3 separate regions of the Homo sapiens genome follow, and regions 1 and 2 are each linked to region 3. The links are contacts of gene promoters, found by promoter capture Hi-C in human tissues and cell types (Jung and others, 2019). All regions are on one chromosome and are shown on one strand. Each heading gives the region's core, a stretch centred on a gene start or on the middle of the fragment in contact. The rest is flanking DNA. Distances are from core to core; before and after follow the strand shown. Region 1 has its middle 38 kb from the start of SCAF4. Region 2 overlaps HUNK (hormonally up-regulated Neu-associated kinase). Region 3 holds the start of HUNK (hormonally up-regulated Neu-associated kinase).

Region 1 (3,983 bases), core at 1,112-3,611, 100 kb after region 3:
GTAGTCCCAGCTACTCAGGAGGCTGAGTTGGGAGGATCTGACCTCTTGAGTCCTGGAGGTCTAGGCTGCAGTGAGCCAAGATTGCACCACTGCAGTCCAGCCTGGGTGACAAAGTGAGACCCTGTATCAAAAAATATATATACATATATATATAAATGTTTAAAAGCCTAATGTAAGTGTCTCCAGTATACTGTAAGTAAAGTGACTTGTGTTTGTGAATTTAATCACTTGCAAAACACATAGTCATTCTCTCACTTGTCTTTACAATAACTCTGTGAGGAGCTGAGCATCAATCAGTGTCATCATTATCTCCATTCCACAAATAAGGAGATGGCGGCTCAGAGAAACTAAATGAATTCTCAATATCATGCAGCTGAACCTTGAACCTCAGGCTGCTGAATTCTTTTTATAAGGTATGGTAGAAGGGAATTCAAGCTCGAAGTCAGGAAGACGGATATGAGTCCTGACTTGGCCACTTACTTGGTCTCTGTCATTGAACAACTTATTTACCGCACAGAGCCTCAGCTGATGCATCTGTAAAATAGGGAGAATCACACCTGTGTGGTAGCTTTTATGAGTATTCAATGAAGCAATGTATGAAAAGCATCAAGGTCAGTGCCTGGCACAAACCAGGTTCTCAGACAAGTAATCCTTGCTATTGCTGATATATACAGCTTCTATTATACTATTTTGCAGCTTTTCCAGCTAGTCACGGCACAATACATGACTTAAAGACACAAAAGGGAGACTTCCTTTCCTCTGATCTCACTCCCTGATTCACTGGCCTGGCTTCTTATAAAGAAAGGTCTTGGCCTGGTTTAAGCAGAAATTCATTTACCAAAAGAATTAGTTGATGAAGGCCAGGCGCGGTGGTTCACGCCTGTAATCCCAGCACTTTGTGAGGCCGAGGCAGGCAGATCATGAGGTCAGGAGATCGAGACCATCCTGGCTAACATGGTGAAACCCCGTCTCTACTAAAAATACAAAAAATTAGCTGGGCGTGGTGGCGGGCGCCTGTAGTCCCAGCTACTTCGGAGGCTGAGGCAGGAGAATGGCGTGAACCTGGGAGGCGGAGCTTGCAGTGAGCCGACGTGCGCCACTATACTCCAGCCTAGGTGACAGAGCGAGACTCCGTCTCAAAAAAAAAAAAAAAAAAAGAATTAGTTGATGAGGTCACCAGTAAATGTAAAGCATTTCATTTATTCACACAATAAATGTTAATAAAGAGTGTACTATAACCCAAGCTTTAGGGAGACCATGTAGCACTTGGTAGGCACAGTCCCAGGCCTCAGGGAGCTGAAGTGATGGGGAAGGCAAACATCAAGCAAGTCACTGGCACCACCAACGTGATTCAGACACGTCTGATCACCCCCGATCACCTGGCATTTTCAGGGCTTAGAATCAGTAAACAAATAGAAACTCCTTAGTTCCCTGCTTTCTCCACTTCTCTGCAAATCATCACCAATTAAGTGCGCATTCAATAAAAGCAGAGAAAAACATTAAGTCCTTAGTGATTCCCATCACTGCTGCCCACATTTCATTGCTGAGAACTAATCACATGACCATAACTGGGCATGAAGAGGGTTGAGAAAATAGCCCTTGACTGGGCTGTCACTTTCCATGCTAGGAAAGGGAGGATGCATTTTTGGTAGCCAAATGGCATATACTTGGGAAAGACCATTGTGACTTTTCTGCCACAGCCAGAAAGAAGGCCAAACATATCAGCAATCCTAACACCTAATGAAAAGAACACAGGAAAGATGGAAAAGACATCGAAAAAGGCATGCTAGGCCGGGCGCAGTGGCTCACACCTATAATCCCAGAACTTTGGGAGGCTGAGGCAGGTGGATGACCTGAGGTCAAGGGTTCGAGACCAGCCTGACCAACACGGCGAAACCCCATCTCTATTAAAAATACAAAAATTATGTAATCTCAGCTACTCGGGAGGCTGAGGCAGGACAATCGCTTGAACCTGGGAGACGGAGGTTGCAATGAGCTGAGATCGCACCATTGCACTCCAGCCCAGGTGACAGTGTGAGACTCCGTCTCAAAAAAAAAAAAAAAAAAAACACAAAAATTAGGCCAGACACGGTAGCTCACGCCTGTAATCCCAGCACTTTGGAAGGCCGGGGCGGGCGGATCACCTGAGGTAGGGAGTTCGAGACCAGCTTGACCAACGTGGAGAAACCCTGTCACTACTAAAAATACAAAATTAGCTGGGTGTGGTGGTGCATGCCTGTAATCTCAGCTACTTGGGAGGCTGAGGTAGGAGAATCGCTTGAACCCAGGAGGCAGAGGTTGCAGTGAGCCAAGATCATGCCATTGCACTCCAGCCTGGGCAACAAGAGCAAAGCTCTGTTTCAAAAAATAAATAAATAAATACAAAAATACAAAAATCAGTCAGGCATGCTGGTGCAGGCCTGTGGTCGCAGCTACTCAGGAGGCTGAGGTGGAAGGACCACTTGGGCCTGGGAGGCAGGGAGGTTGCAGTTAACCAAGATTGTGCCACTGCACTCCAGCCTGGATGACAGACAGGCTGCACTCCAGCCTGGATGACACTGCACTCCAGCCTGGATGACAAAAAAAGAAAATAAAAGAAAAAGGCATGCCAGGTATATATTAATAGTAGTCATCTCACACAAAATAAAATTCAAAATGAAAAGCATTAAAAGAATATATCATAATTATAACATTATAATCCACAAAAATATGAATCATAAACATTTATGTACCTACAACCTTGGCCTCAAAATCTGTAAGTAAGACAAGCCCTGATAGAAATGCAAGGAATCACTGGTAAGTCCCCATCATGGGTGGCTTTAAATACATTTCTCAAAAACAGGCTGATCAACTACTACCCAAATGAATATGTCTTAAGAAGTCCTGGCTGACAAAACTAACATTTATAACTTCATAGGCATATGGAGAGAAACAAGTTTTTATCCAACAGACATTACACATTTTTTTCCAACTCTCATGAGACATTCTCTGAATGTATTAAACCACAAAGAAAATCACAACAAATCCCCAATAGTAAAACTGTGACAGCATACATTCATGAACTATAATGGAATAAAATTAGAAAATAATAAAAGATGGATAACAAACAAAAATCTATCCTCTTGGATATTTTAAAACATTCCACTAAATAAGTCTTAGGTTTGACAGGAAATAAGCACAGAAATTACAAGCCATTTAGAACTGAATCACAGTAAGAGCTGTCCATGGATATCAAGGCCCTTGGGACACGCTAAGACAGCACTCACAGGGAAAATACATAGCCTTATGTGCATGTGACAGAAAATAAGAAATGTTGAAAATAAATGAATCAACCAAGATTTCAACTCAAGAAGCTTGGCAGGGGATGGAGAGAGACAAAATAAACCTGAAGAAAGTTGAAGGAATGAATTAAGAAAGATAAGAGTAGAAATTAATAAAAATAGAAAATAAAGAGGTGATAGCATGTGGTGACTGGTTTTTCAGATGCTGGCAAGGTTGCAGAGAAAAGGAAACACTTATACACTGTTGGTGGGAGTGTAAATTAGTTCAACCATTGTGGAAAACAGTGTGGCGATTTCTCAAAGACCTAAAAGCAGAAATACCAATTGACCCAGCAATCCCATTACTGGGTATATGCCCAAAGGAATATAAATTGTTCTATTATAAAGACACATGCATGTGTATGTTCATTGCAGCACTATTCACAATAGCAAAGGCACGGTATCAACCTAAATGCCCATCAATGATACACTGGAAAAAGAAAATGTGGTACATATACACATGGAATACTATGCAGCCATAAAAAAAGAATGAGATCATATTTTTTGCAGGAACATGGATGGAGCTAGAGGCCAATATCCTTAGCAAACTAACACAGAAACAGAAAACCAAAACCGCATGTTTTCGTTTTTAAGTGAGAGCTAAATGATGAGAACACATGGACACATAGAGGGGAACAATACACACGGGGTCCTATCAGGGGC
Region 2 (3,906 bases), core at 139-2,638, 95 kb before region 3:
AAGAACCCTCCTCATGGAAACTGATAAAGTGAAGCCTTCACGGAAAGTTCATAGGGACACCCGGCCTAAAACGAATGACTCCTATGCCTTTCCTTCCTGCCTCCCACATTTTAAGGCAGGGGTCTTAGGGCTGAAATAAACATCAAGAACAAGGCAGAAGAAGGCATCTAAGGGTGGTTTGGAAAGGGAGGGGCGATCCCATGTTTCTGTTTGATGTTGGCAGGTGGGCTCGTGAGCTGATCACACACACGCAAACACACTCACAACACAAGGACTGGCCGGGCACGTTGGCTCACACATGAAATCCCAGCACTTTGGGAGGCCAAGGCAGGCGGATCACTTGAGGTCAGGAGTTCAAGACCAGCCTGGGCAAGAGGTGAAACCCCGTCTCTACTAAAAATACAAAATTAGCCTGGTGTGGTGGCACGTTCCTGTAATCCCAGCTCCTCAGGAGGCTGAGGCATAAGAATCGCTTGAAACCAGGAGGCAGAGGTTGCAGTGATCTGAGATTACGCCACTGCACTCCAGCCTGGGTGACAGAGCCAGACTATGTATTAAAAAAACAAAACAAAGACATACACACACACACACACACACACACACACACACAAATTTACACACAACACATACACACACACAGACACAACACCCATGCACATGGAGACCCAAGCAGACATAGACACTCACTCTCTCTCTCTCACACACACACACACACACACACACACACACACACACACTCGGGCCACAGCTAGTCTCAAAGGTCCCTCTGTGTGAACTAGAAAAAGGCAACCCCTGGGAAGATACAGACCCTCAAAGCCTGGATATCAGCCTCCACTCACCTCTCCTCCAGGTGCCCCTGCAGGGCACACGGCATAACAGCACATGGTGGCCCTGTCTACGCTTCCTCTTGTGGATGTGTGGGTGTGGGTGTTAGGGGGAAGGGGAGATAGCCAAGAGAGAGCGCGGCTTTTCCTTCAATCACGGACAGCTTTCTGTCCGGAACTGCTCAGGGCTAGTAGGACAGGCCCCGTCTCTCCCGAGGAGTTCCTCTGGGTGCACGAAATTACCTGTTGGGATAGGTGACATTACAGGGCACTTTGCCCGTGTAATTCTCATTAAGCCAGCGATTCGCCAGTGCCTGCTGAATATTTGGCCTCTTCACAGGATCCGGTTCCAGGAGAGAGCGCAGGAAACTGATGGCACCTGGGAGACATTTGGGAAAGAATGCACGCATGTTACAGGCTGAACGCAGACACCAGTGAAAGCCACCATCACAGGGGACTCGCCACCTTGCCTGCCCATCCCGAGTCACTGCTGGGGTGATCTCTTCTCTAGGTCTCTGGGCAGGGTTCCGATTCAATGAATCGTGGAGCTTGGTTTCAGCCCCACCTCCCTTCAGACAGGAGGGGTGTGGAAAATCCCATTTCCCCCTCTCTCTCTTTAAAAAATACACACCACATAGCCAAAGAATTTAATTTCTCTGTCCAAGGGGAGCAACTGGTACATGATACAGCAAGAACCAGTTTGGGTCTCCCCATTCCGTGTTTCCCAAGACAACCTGTGGTCTTTTCTTGTTGCTCATAGGTGAGCCAAAGAGATGCACTATTGACAGGCTTGTAGGAATGAAAGAAAATAAACAGAAAATGCCTGCTCGCAAGGTAGGTTTTTGAGCACTCAGGGAGAAGCCAGAAGTGTACAGGCATCCTAAGTTAGACCTCTCAACTGGGCACCACAGGACACTCAGAGTCTCAAGGGGCCAGAGAGGTCCTGCTTTCTGATCCTTTCCTTTAAAGCCATTCTGCACCGCCGCCCACCTCCCCGCCTCAGCCTCCCAAAGTGCTGGGATTATAGGCCTGAGCCACCACGCCTGGCCAAAAATAATGTTTTAAATGCCCTGGGTTTCCTTTCATTTCACAAATATTTACAGAGCACTTGTCCATTCAAGCACTGGAGATAAGAAGCTAATTCATCTCTAAGCAGAACATTTGCATCCTTTAAGATTATAACAACGGAAACAACTGTATGAGAGGTAAAAATGCGTTTATAATGCACACGAAGCCTTTTATTTTGTATTTATTTTATTCATTATTTTTTATATTTTGGAGACAGAGTCTCACACTGTCGCCCAGGCTGGAGTGCAGTTGTGCCATCATGGCTCACTGCAGCCTTGATCTCTCTGGCTCAGGTGACCTTCCCACCTCAGCCTTCCAAGTAGGTGAGACTACAGGCATGCACCGTCACACCTGGATACTTTTTTTATTTTTTTGGTAGAGATGGGGTTTTGCCATGTTGCCCAGGCTGGTCTCAAACCCCTGAGCTCAAGCGATCCTCCTGCCTCAGCCTCCCAAAGTGTTGGGATTAAGTGTGTAAGCCACCACACCCAACCCATGAAGGCCCTTCTAAGGCTGCAAAATTGTTCAGCAGAAGAATATACAGCATACCCACATGTGGGCAAAGAATGGCAGGGATGACTTCAAAATGCAGACGGTCTGTCTTGCTTGAGTTGTGGGACTGTGATCTTTTCTTATGCTATAGCCCTTATTTTACAAAGTATTGCGGTAATGTTTTTGCAATATGAAGAATTCTTTTACGTAGCTTTGTACTTGATTTCCAACATACCAAATAATAGATCCCAGAAAATAATAATGTGCTTGGTCCCCCGATTTTTCTATCCTTCTCTTCAAAGTTATTTTTTCAGTTTTCTAAAGTAATCTTCTTTGCAAGGAGAAGCCATAAAATGTCCTACTTTCTCAAAAGCTTTAAGTTGTCATTTGAACATTGTTCTTGAGGAAATGCTGAGCCTTTTGTCAACTCATTTTCTGCAGGGTAAAAATGAGGCCATCAAAAAAGGGGCCAGTTGTGATGCCAGAATCAACTCAAGAGAAACAATCTTTGCTAGGTCATGCAGCCAGGTCAACCTCCATGGTCAACCCACCACCAGGGTGGGTTCCCATACTGTTGAAGAGGTTACCAGGTCATCTCCCTTTCAATAGTGGGTAGTCTCTACTGGGTATCTACCCAAAGGAAAATAGGTCATTACATGAAAAAGACACTTGCACACATGTTTATAGCAGCACAATTCACAATTGCAAAAATATGGAACCAGCCCAAATTCCCATCAATTAACAAGTGGATAAAGAAAATGTGACATATATATATACATGTCATATATATAAACACCAAGGAATACTACTCAGTCATAAAAAGGAGCAAACTAATGGCATTCACAGCAACCTGGATGGAGTTGGAGACCATTATTCTAAGTGAAGTAACCCAGGAATGGAAAAACCAAACATTGTGTATTCTCACTCGTAAGTGGGAGCTAAGCTATGAAGGTGCAAAGGCATAAGAATGATACAATAGACTTTGGGGACTTGGAGGGAAGGGTAGGAGAGGGGCAGGGGATAATAGACTACACATTGGGTACAGTGTACACTGCTCAGGCGATGGATGCACCCAAATCTCAGAAATCGCCACTAAGGAACTTATCCATGTAACCAAACACCACCTGTTCCTCAAATACGTACTGAAATTTTGAAAAAAGGAAATATTGCCAGGAGCAGTGGCTCACAACTGTAATCCCAGCACTTTGGGAGGACGAGGTGAGTGGATCACCTGAGGTCAGGAGTTCAAGACCAGCCTGATCAACATGGCGAAACCCCGTCTCTACTAAAAATACAAAAATTAGCCGGGTGTGGTGGTGCATGCCTGTAATCCCAGCTACTCGGGAGGCGGAGGTGGTAGAATTGCTTGAACTCAGGAGGCAGAGTTTGCAGTGAGCTGAGATCACGCCATTGCACTCCAGCCTGGGTAAGAGAGAGAGAATCCGTCTCAAAATTAAAAAAAAAAAAAAAAAAAGAAAAACAAAGAACAGTGAGGTGGGTAGAAATGCATGTGTAGAGGCCA
Region 3 (3,954 bases), core at 415-2,914:
CTCCCACCCTGAGGCTGGAGGGCACAGAGGAGCTGGGGGAACGGAGAGAAGGGGATGAGAATGGCGGGGATGAGAATGGTGGGTGATGAGGGGGCAGGGGTGGGAGGGTTGAGTGGATAGAGAGGAGCACAGGTTGAGGGATGGACAAGTGGAGGGCGGAGGCAAAAACCCTCCTCTGAGCACGAAAAATTCCCTAGCTGCCAAAAAACATTCCCTAGCTGCCGGAGCCCACAGGTGGGAAGGAATGCAGGATCTCAGCCTTCTCCCACCTCCTCCGAGAGCCCAGGACGGGGATCAGACTCTAAGCTCCCCCCAGAGGCTGGCTGTTAGCTTTCCTGCCCCCCCCGCCCCCCGACATAAGAGCCCACCTCCTCTAGCCCTGGTTCCCGCCTCGCCACGGATCCGCCGCCCCTGCCGGCCTGAAGGGCAGAGGGGCCCCATCCCGCCCCCCGCGCTAGTGTCGCCAGGCGGCGCCCTTCCACGAGCAGAACGGCCGCGCGGGACGCTTCCCGGGGCAAGGCCGTCCCCTCCCAAGCCCCCAACCCCCGGGCAGCGGACCGCAGGCCGCCTTCGGGAAAGGCTGCGAGATGCTGAGCGCGCGTTTTAACCCAACAGGAAAGCCGGGCGGAGGGGGAAGGCGCTTGGCCCGGGACTGCACACTGGGACTCCCAGTGCAGTGCTCCCCGCGGGGTCCTGGCCGCCGACTCCCGCCCCTGTGCCCCAGCCCCACGGCGCCCGGGAGACTCACCTTCTCCCCGGTCAGCACGTGCAGCCCCTCGCGCACCTTGGCAAAGGAGCCCTCGCCCAGCTTCCTGCTGCCGATGAGGTAGTTGCCCACGCGCTTGTGGTGCTGGAAGTCGCGGAGCCGCTCGCGGGGCACGCCGCTCACCCAGGCAGGCAGGAAACTTCCCTCGCAGGCCGCCGCGGGCCTGGCCGCGTCCTCCGCGCCGCCGCCGCCCCCAGGCGCCGCCGGCTCCCCCAGGAGCCCGTCCCCCGCCGCCGCCGGCATCGCGCTCGCCGCGGCCCGCGCGGCTCCTGCTCGTCTCCCGCGCTCGCAGCTCCTCCTCCCCAGGCTCTTCGGCTTCCCCGGCTTCTCCCGCCGCCGCCCTGGGCCCAGCCCCGCCTGGGTCTCCGCACCCAGAGCCCGGGGCCGCCGCGATCACGCCCCCCGCGCCGCCCAGCGAGGCGCGTAGACAATAGCGGCTGCCCAGGGGACGCGGGACCGGGGACCCCGCCCCCAAAAGTTCTTCCTCTTAGGGTCGCCCGGGCCCCTTTCAGGACACCAGGATCCCGCCCCGGGTCCCGTCCAGGAAGCTAATGACAGTCGCCCTGCTCGGGCGCGCGGGGTGGGGCGCGGTCCGGCGGCGCCTGGGTCCCGGGGTCCGGGTGCCTGGGTCCGGGAGCCCGGGTGCCTCCGCAGCCTCCGCCTCGCCGCCGCCGTCTGGCCCGCACGGGCTTGGGTCGGGCTCCCGCGATCGCTCCTAGCCGTGCGCTGGGCGGCCGCTCCCGCCGGAGAGAAGCGCGCGGCGGGCTGCCGGCGCCCTCTGGAAGGCAGCAGAAGAAAGCCCCATTCAGTTTGAATTTGCAGAAATTTAATCCGCTCGCGGGCGGCGGGAACAGATGCGAGCTCCACTCCGCAGCCCGTGCACTTTCAAATCCCTAGTAGCCCCTCCTTCCCCGCGCGCCACAGTCAAACTCGACCCTCGCTGGAGAGGGGAGGGCCCGGGGAGGGGAGCGGCGGAGTGGACGGAGAAGCCACCTGAGCGCCAGACAGGGAGAACCTGCGCGGCCTCGGAGGCGCGCGCTCCCGGGCCGCCCAGGTCGGGCCGCCTCCGGCTGCGCCTCTTGCCCGGATTCTGGGCTTGGGTTTTCTGGACCTTTCGGCGGTGAAATCCCCCACTGGCCGCACCCACCCGGGGCGGGGGGAAGGGGGAAGGCTCTCGAACTCCGTGGACTGTGAGTCGGGTTGCGTGCCCGGCCCTGAGTCCGCCACACAGTAGGGCCCCCTGGACCGGGGGTGGAAGGATAGATGGATGGCTGGAAGAAAGGGTGGGGAGGCGGCCAGGCGTCTGCCCGGGCTCGCACGCAGCCTGGTTGGCTGTGTTGGAGGAGGCGCAGCCACAGCAGTAATAGTAGCAGCAGCAATGTAGGAACCAGGGCGTTTGCTGCCTCTGCTTGTAGCTTACACCTTCTTTGCCTTCCATTGAAATGATGCCTGTGATTGCAGGAGGTGGACCGGCGCTCGCCTCTCTTCGATGCTTTTGTTCTGCAAGCGCTGTGACTGTGCTCATCGCATAAACAATTGCAACTGCCCTGACGACACTGGACCCTCTCCCAGGATCCCCAACGTCTTCTCAAACCGAAAATGAAGAATCTTGTGAGGGAGAAGGAGGAGGGTAGGTAGGAGGAGGCATTTACAAAATGCTACCTGTTGAGGTGCCCGCATTTGATGGAAACTTCACCCCGATCATGCAACATCAGAGCTGAAAGGAAGGATTTGGTCCTAACAAAGTTCCTTTCATTGTTTATTCCTGAGTAAACAAGTATGACATCGACCCATAGCAATGCTTTGAGATTGGGAGTGGGGGGTGGGGGAACAACAGCTGTCATCAATCCAGTGTCTGGGGGTCTCGCTGACCCATCTGAAGAGGGACGCAGAGAAATGCCTGCTTTCAATACATCTAATTTTAAATACGCTACTATATTCATCCACCTACCTGTTACAAGTCACCAGCCTCAGTTATTATGACGGAACATACTGCGTTTTCTGTTGTTCTGTCTCATTGTTCCCGTTTACCAATATTAAAGATACAGCTTAAAATGTTTTTCTTGCTGTGCTGAAGGGACTTCTTTGCTCCCACCGGCCTTGACTATTTCAGTAACGTTCATTCAATCCTTTTAATGTCTCTAATTCAGTAATCAAATCTTAACAGGACAGTTGCATGGGAGGGGAATGGTAACTAGCGTGGTGCCAGCAGAATAGATGTCCAGCAACTGTCTAAAGAATGAGGAATATGGAGCTCACTTTGGGGTAAAAACCACTCTGAGGCCGGGCGCGGTGGCTCACGCCTGTAATCCTAGCACTTTGGGAGGCCGAGGCAGGTAGATCACGAGGTCAGGAGTTCAAGACCAGCCTGGTCAAGATGGTGAAACCCTGTCTCTACTAGAAATACAAAAATTAGCCGGGCGTGGTGGCGGGCGCCTGTAATCCCAGCTACTCGGGAGGCTGAGGCAGAGAATTGCTTGAATCCAGGAGGCGAAAGTTGCAGTGAGCTGAAATCTTGCCACTGCACTCCAGCCTGGGCGACAGAGCAAGACTCCTTCTCAAAAAAAAAAAAAAAAAAACCACTCTGAATCTTCCATCAGAAACAGTTTGGGAGTCCACCCAATGTTGTGTTAATAGAGTATGATTTTTTTTAATGTTAGGACATGCACTCTTTATGAAAATTTAGAGATTTATTTATTAAGGTTTAAGGGAAATTTCTGAGACTGTTCCCCAAAGTATTTTTATGGTCTAAAAAAAAAAAGTTTCATAAAAATGGTGGATGACATTTACAATGAAATAGAGATTTTCTTTCCTTTTAATTATCCTCTCAGGGTAGAGGTCAGGAAAGGGGTGAAGAAGAGAGAAAATCCAGGCCCATTAAATCTTTTTCAAGCCTGCTGCCTGGGTTTGATTCAAGTTCACTGCTAATTCCATAAGCTGGGATGGATGCCAAAGAGAAGTCCAAATCCTATCCGTGCGTCCCCTTTGTAACTGGTTTTGGAACTACAAGTCCTAGTCTCTGAAATGGCCTGTTTAACAAGAAATCACCCCAGAAATGTCTTTATGTAAAACAAATTAGTACACAATATATTGCCCTCATATTCAGTGTGCAGAAAGCATCTGATTATTCAATGCAACAGTAATGCAGCCTTGAAAATTCTCTGCTAATTAGCCCAAACTAATTTCTA

Evidence for each region. The method cuts DNA at HindIII sites, captures the fragments that hold promoters and counts their contacts. A contact is called where the count stands out against the background at its distance.
Region 1: a contact is called between a fragment that was not itself captured here and the fragment with the promoter of HUNK in region 3, in 5 of the 25 tissues and cell types used here (dorsolateral prefrontal cortex, heart left ventricle, hippocampus and 2 more).
Region 2: a fragment that was not itself captured here is called in contact with the fragment with the promoter of HUNK in region 3 in 6 of the 25 tissues and cell types used here (H1 embryonic stem cells, dorsolateral prefrontal cortex, liver and 3 more).

The regions. Positions count from the first base shown.
Region 1 is chr21:31,768,187-31,772,169 of GRCh38, reverse strand. No RefSeq gene overlaps it. Among named protein-coding and RNA genes, the nearest start is that of SCAF4, 38 kb to the right of the region's middle. The HindIII fragment of the contact is 4,194 bases long and covers 265-3,983 here.
Region 2 is chr21:31,965,547-31,969,452 of GRCh38, reverse strand. HUNK (hormonally up-regulated Neu-associated kinase) reads right to left here. Exons shown (of 11, transcript NM_014586.2): 6 at 1,068-1,203. Among named protein-coding and RNA genes, the nearest start is that of HUNK, 94 kb to the right of the region's middle. The HindIII fragment of the contact is 5,459 bases long and covers 1-3,906 here.
Region 3 is chr21:31,870,730-31,874,683 of GRCh38, reverse strand. It overlaps HUNK (hormonally up-regulated Neu-associated kinase), which reads right to left and starts at 1,664. Exons shown (of 11, transcript NM_014586.2): 1 at 749-1,664. The coding sequence starts at 1,009. RefSeq lists silencers at 391-570, 1,497-1,546. The HindIII fragment of the contact is 17,092 bases long and covers 1-3,954 here.